Linked DNA regions of Homo sapiens: region 2 is linked to region 1. The links are contacts of gene promoters, found by promoter capture Hi-C in human tissues and cell types (Jung and others, 2019). All regions are on one chromosome and are shown on one strand. The core of a region is centred on a gene start or on the middle of the fragment in contact, and the rest is flanking DNA. Distances in the headings are between cores, read along the strand shown.

Region 1 (2,700 bases), core at 50-2,549:
GAGCAGTGATCGCACCACTGCATTCCAGCCTGGGTGACAGAGTGAGACCCTGACTCTAAAAATATAAATAAATAAATAAATAAATAAGTAATAAAAATATATAAAAAGGGCCAGGCGCGGTGGCTCATGACTGTAATCCCAGCACTTTGGGAGGCCAAGGCGGACAGATCACGAGGTCTGGAGATTGAGACCATCTTGACCAACATGGTGAAACCCCATCTCTACTAAAATACAATAAATAAATAAATAAATAAATAAATAAATAAATAAAAAGTAAAATAAAAATCTGCTCTTAACACACCTCCCCAAAATAACCAGACAGGCAGATGTGGTCAAACATACCTGAGGGTGAGTCCTGGAGCTCCCTGTGTCAACTCAAGCAAGCCACTTAGCAATTCTGGGCCTCAGTTTCCCCATCTGGAAAAGGGAGGTCCTCAGGGTGTTGCCATCAAAAGATGGTTGTAATGTTTCAATATAGTTCCGCATATTACACATTCAGCACAGACCCTGATTCAGGCACACACAAAAAGAACAAATATGACCAAAACAAGAATAACATAATTGTTATTAGTTTCATCGTGGTGATGGCCTCTTTCAGGCCACAATTCTCCTCTCCCACATTTACCCCCATGAGTGACCTCAGTCCCTGTTGACTCCCCAAAGCCTAGGAGAGTTTATGTCCAGCTCCATCCCCCCAATCCAGGGCCTGAGCCTCCTGAGGGCGCCAGTATGGAAGTGGAGGGGCTGTCACTTCCACCCATGTTGCTGGTTTCCTCATCTGGAAAATGGGCATGTAACAGTGTCTACCTCAAAAGGCTGCTGGGAGGATTTAACGCGAGGAGGCAGAGAAAGTGCCTGGTATACAGTAAGCGCTTAATTAGCCTTTGCCATTAATACCTATTCATGTTATAGATGAGATCCCGGGGATGGGGCTTTCGCGGAGCCTACTTCCTCCTTCCTCCTTTCTCGTCCCCACTGGACCCAGACCCAGCTTTGAAGACAGGGTCGGAGTGAAGTTTGCAACTGGGAAGGCTGCACGCCCCCATGTCCTCCCCCCAAAACCTCTAAACCCGGCCGGCAACGGCGGGAACTGGGATGTGCACCCACCGGGCATCGGAGCAGTCCCGAGGCACCAGGTGCTCCCATCCAAGTGCAGCCTGTCAAGCGCAGCCAGTCCCCGCGGCTTCTTCCTGAGGACCTCCGGCCGCGCTCCTTCCGCGCCCGCGTCCAGACTCACCCTTCCGGGGGAACACAAGCTCGAACCCGGACCCCTCCCCGCTCCCGCGGGTAGCTACTGCTTGTCCCCCGCCGAGACGCCTCCTCCCATTGGCCGCCTGAAACGCACACGCCCATTGGCAGCTGCTCTGTTCTCCCTGCTCGTCACCATTGGATTTTTTTTTTTTTGCCATGGTGGCGGCACTCTCATTGGTCCTGGGGCTCATTCGTCACTCAGCCGCGATTGGCTGAGTCGGCACCCAGATGCGCTGTCGCTTCTGCTATTGGCTGGCACTCGGTGGACGGAGACGGGGGAGGGGCTTGCGAGAGGCGGGAGGGAGAGCGAAGTGTGTGGGCAACGCGGCCGGATCCTGGAGTTCCCCTCCGTGCTGTGGAATTGGGTCAGGCGTGTACGGTCCTGACCCTAGGACACAGCTGCATGTCCTCACCTCGGTGTTCAAAGCTGCACCGGCCACCATTCAACCCTCCGACGCCCTGCCCTTTGGCTTCCCCGTTCCATCCGGTCCTGTCTCCTTTCCCTCGTTTCTACCTGGCCGACTCCATCCTGCTGACTAGAATTCCCCCTCCTTCACTCCTGGGAGGCATTCCTCGCCCACCTGCCCCAGTCCTCTTCCTGATCACCTGCAGCCCTGTCCTCTGAAGCTCCCTAGCGGTCAGGGTAGCAGCTTGGACATCCCGCCAGACGTGAATTCAAATCCCCACTCCGCAAGTCGTGCCCATTTGCTGAGAAGCCTACAGCCAGAGCGTTTCACATACATTATCTCATTTGATCCTAGCAGCAATTCCCTGTATGGCGGCTCTTATTATCCCCATTTCACAGAGGAAGAAACTCAGGCATGAAGAGGTAACAAAGACCGTCCTCTGACCCTTCTTCTGTGCCACACCATAACCACTCCTCGACTTTGTCTTTCACCTGCCCAGCCAAGTCTTAGCAAAGAAGCCTATTAAGTCATCCGCTCATCCTTGATGTCTGATCAACTTCCTCATCTTCCACTTTTTTTTTTTTTTTTTTTTAAGATGGAGTTTCGCTCTTGTCGCCCAGGCTGGAGTGCAATGCTGCGATCTCGGCTCACTGCAACCTCAGACTCCCGGATTCAAGCGATTCTCCTGCCTCAGCCTCCTGGGTAGCTGGGACAACAGGCGCCCGCCACCACGCCCGGCTAATTTTTGTATTTTTAGTAGAGATGGGATTTCACCATCTTGGCCAGGCTGGTCTCGAACTCCTGACCTCGTGATCCACCCTCCCAAAGCGCTGGGATTACAGGCGTGAGCCACCGCACCCGGCCCTTTTGTTGTTAATTTTTAAATTTTGTGGCTAATTTTTAAATTTTTGTAGAGATGGGGTCTGGCTATGTTGCCCAGGCTGGTCTTGAACTTCTGGCCTCAAGCAATCATCCTGCCTTGGCTTTCCAAAGTGCTGGGATTACAGATGTGAGCTAAGACACCCAGCTCCATGGAGTTGGT
Region 2 (2,700 bases), core at 102-2,601, 160 kb after region 1:
GCCAGGGGTGGTGGCATGTGCCTATAGTCCTAGCTACTCAGGTGGCTGAGGCAGGAGACTTGCTTAAGCCTCGGCAGTTGAGACTGCAGTGAGCCATGATCAGGCCACTGCACTGTAGTCTGGATGACAGAGCAAGACCCTGTCTCAACAACAACAACCAAAATCTGTTTGGGCCTCGCAAGGTTAGAGAAAAAAAATTAAAAAATAAAATAAAATAAAATATTTTCCTGTAGTCTCAGCTACTTGGGAGGCTGAGGCAGGAGGATCACTTGAGCTAAGGAGTTTCAGGCCAGCCTGGGCAACATAGAGAGAACTTGTCTCTATAAAAAGTTAACTGATTACTTTTTAAAACAAAGAGGTTTTTTTTCAGCCTTATTGAGGTATAATAGACATATACAAAACCATGCAAATTTTAAGCGTACAATCTGATGAGTTTTCACACCTGTGAAGCCACTATTACAGTTAAGATACTGAATTTATCCACAGCTCCAAAAAATGTCTTCCTGCCTGAGGTGGTGGCTCACGCCTGTAATCCCAGCATTTGGGAGGCTGAGGCGGGAGGATCTCATGAAGCCAGGAGTTTGAGACCAGCCTAGACAACATAGCGAGACCCCTTATCTACAAATAAAATTTAAAAAATTAACCAGGCATGGTGGCTCCTGTCTGCGGTCTCAGCTACTCTGGAGGCTGAGGTTGGAGGATCAGAGTTGGAGGCTGCAGTGAGCTATGAAAGCGCCACTGCACTCCAGTCTGGACAACAGAGCCAGATGCTGTCTCGACAAAACAAACACTGAAAAAAACTTTCCTGGAGCACTTCATTCATCCCTCCCTCCCGCGCCTGCCTACCCCTGGATTTTTTTTCCCTGAGCATAATTCTCATGAAGATTCGTCTATGTTGTTGCGTGTATTCCAGCCCTATTTTGCACATGAGGAAACTGAGGCACAGAGAGGCGTGGCTTGCCCCGGAGGTCACACTAGTCGATTTGGTCCCAGGCCAGGGCGGGTTCTGGGTCGGCAGCCCGCGCAGGTGCACTCGGGAGGCGGGGCGGGCGCTGCAGGTGCGCAGTCAGTCTCACCTGGGCGCCTGCCAGGAGGTCAGTCCTGGGCCCTGGGGGGCAGGACTAGGGGCGGGGCCAGGGGCAGGGGTTCCCCAGCTCTGCTGCCTCCGATAAGGGCCTGAAGGGGCTGTCGCGCTCCTGGCGGTGTGATAAGGAGGGCGGGGGGAGGCCGCGGGAAGGCGTCGGGGTTTGAGGTCCCCGCCTGGCGACCCGGGATCGGGGCAGGAAAGGCGGCTGGGCGGGGAGAGGGCGGGGCGGGGCGTCTGGCTTGGCCACGCCCACCGTCATCCGGGGTCCTGGCCCGCTAAGATGGCGATGGCTGCGGTAGCAGCGGCGGCGGCTGTTGCCTGGCCCGGTACCCTGGGGACGGGGGCCGAGTAGCGCCTTCCCCGGGCCCCGTGAACCGGCTGCGGGTCGCCCTTGGGGGGCAGCGGCCGCAGCCCCCCACCTGGGCCCTCGGTCCGCCCTCCCGGCGCGTCCATGAACTCAGTGTCGCCGGCCGCCGCGCAGTACCGGAGCAGCAGCCCGGAGGACGCGCGCCGCCGGCCCGAGGCCCGCAGGCCGCGGGGTCCCAGAGGCCCAGACCCCAACGGCCTGGGGCCTTCCGGAGCCAGCGGCCCCGCTCTTGGCTCTCCCGGGGCTGGCCCGAGTGAGCCGGACGAAGTGGACAAGTTCAAGGCCAAGTTCCTGACAGCCTGGAACAACGTCAAGTACGGTGAGGAGGGGGCCCGGAGATCGTGGGGGTGTCGGGGGCCGTTGAGGAAAACCAGACCCCGGTCCTGCCAGTTATCCCACCCTTGTTCCCGTCCTGAGTCACCTGTGGGTCCCCTCCCTGCCCGGCCCAGGGTGGACCTGTGGCAGGTCCAATAGTGTTTTCAAGCCCCGCCCATTCCCCTGTGTGACCTTGGGCAAGATCCTTTGCTTCCTGGCGCCTCCGTTTTTGCCCCTCTCTGTAAAATGGGTACAATAATCAGAACTACCTTCCTTCATCCTGAATTGATGGTGGACACTCCTGTAGCTGTCACTGGGGGCCCCACCTCCGACGGAATCCCCGGAGCCACCCCGGAGATAGGAACTAGGATCGTGCCCATTTCACAGATGGGGGAATGGAAGCGCTGTTGCTGTCATGCAAGTGCTTCATCTCGCTGGGCGCTGCCCCTACGTCTCCCCAGGTTGGGTGGTTAAAAGCCGGACCAGCTTTAGCAAGATCTCCAGCATCCACCTCTGTGGCCGCCGCTACCGTTTCGAGGGCGAGGGTGAGCTGGTGGTTGGGACCAGGGCTGGGGGAGGCCTCTCCACGCCCGCCGGAGTGTCCCTGGTGGCAGCTGACAGACCCGCTCTTGTAGGTGACATACAGCGTTTCCAGCGGGACTTTGTGTCCCGCCTGTGGCTCACATACCGCCGGGACTTCCCGCCCCTTCCTGGGGGCTGCCTGACCTCGGACTGTGGCTGGGGGTGCATGTTACGCAGCGGCCAGATGATGCTGGCACAGGGCCTTCTGCTGCATTTCCTGCCCAGAGGTGAGCCATAGGGGGGAAGGGGTGCACTAGGAGTACAGGGTCAACTGCCATATCAGCAGTATTAGAATTACTTACCAACTAAGAGTTCAAAGTCACGTTAGAATTGTGTGTCAAGTAAGTTT

What was found. The method cuts DNA at HindIII sites, captures the fragments that hold promoters and counts their contacts. A contact is called where the count stands out against the background at its distance.
Region 2: a contact is called between the fragment with the promoter of ATG4D here and the fragment with the promoter of TYK2 in region 1, in 1 of the 25 tissues and cell types used here (adrenal gland).

The regions. Positions count from the first base shown.
Region 1 is chr19:10,379,273-10,381,972 of GRCh38, forward strand. TYK2 (tyrosine kinase 2) reads right to left here and starts at 1,300. Exons shown (of 25, transcript NM_003331.5): 1 at 1,108-1,300; 2 at 343-507. RefSeq lists enhancers at 1,198-1,357, 1,266-1,929. The HindIII fragment of the contact is 20,387 bases long and covers 1-2,700 here.
Region 2 is chr19:10,542,553-10,545,252 of GRCh38, forward strand. It overlaps ATG4D (autophagy related 4D cysteine peptidase), which reads left to right and starts at 1,352. Exons shown (of 10, transcript NM_032885.6): 1 at 1,352-1,773; 2 at 2,231-2,314; 3 at 2,405-2,578. The coding sequence starts at 1,539. RefSeq lists silencers at 1,068-1,117, 1,128-1,467, 1,518-1,697 and an enhancer at 1,743-2,338. The HindIII fragment of the contact is 15,918 bases long and covers 1-2,700 here.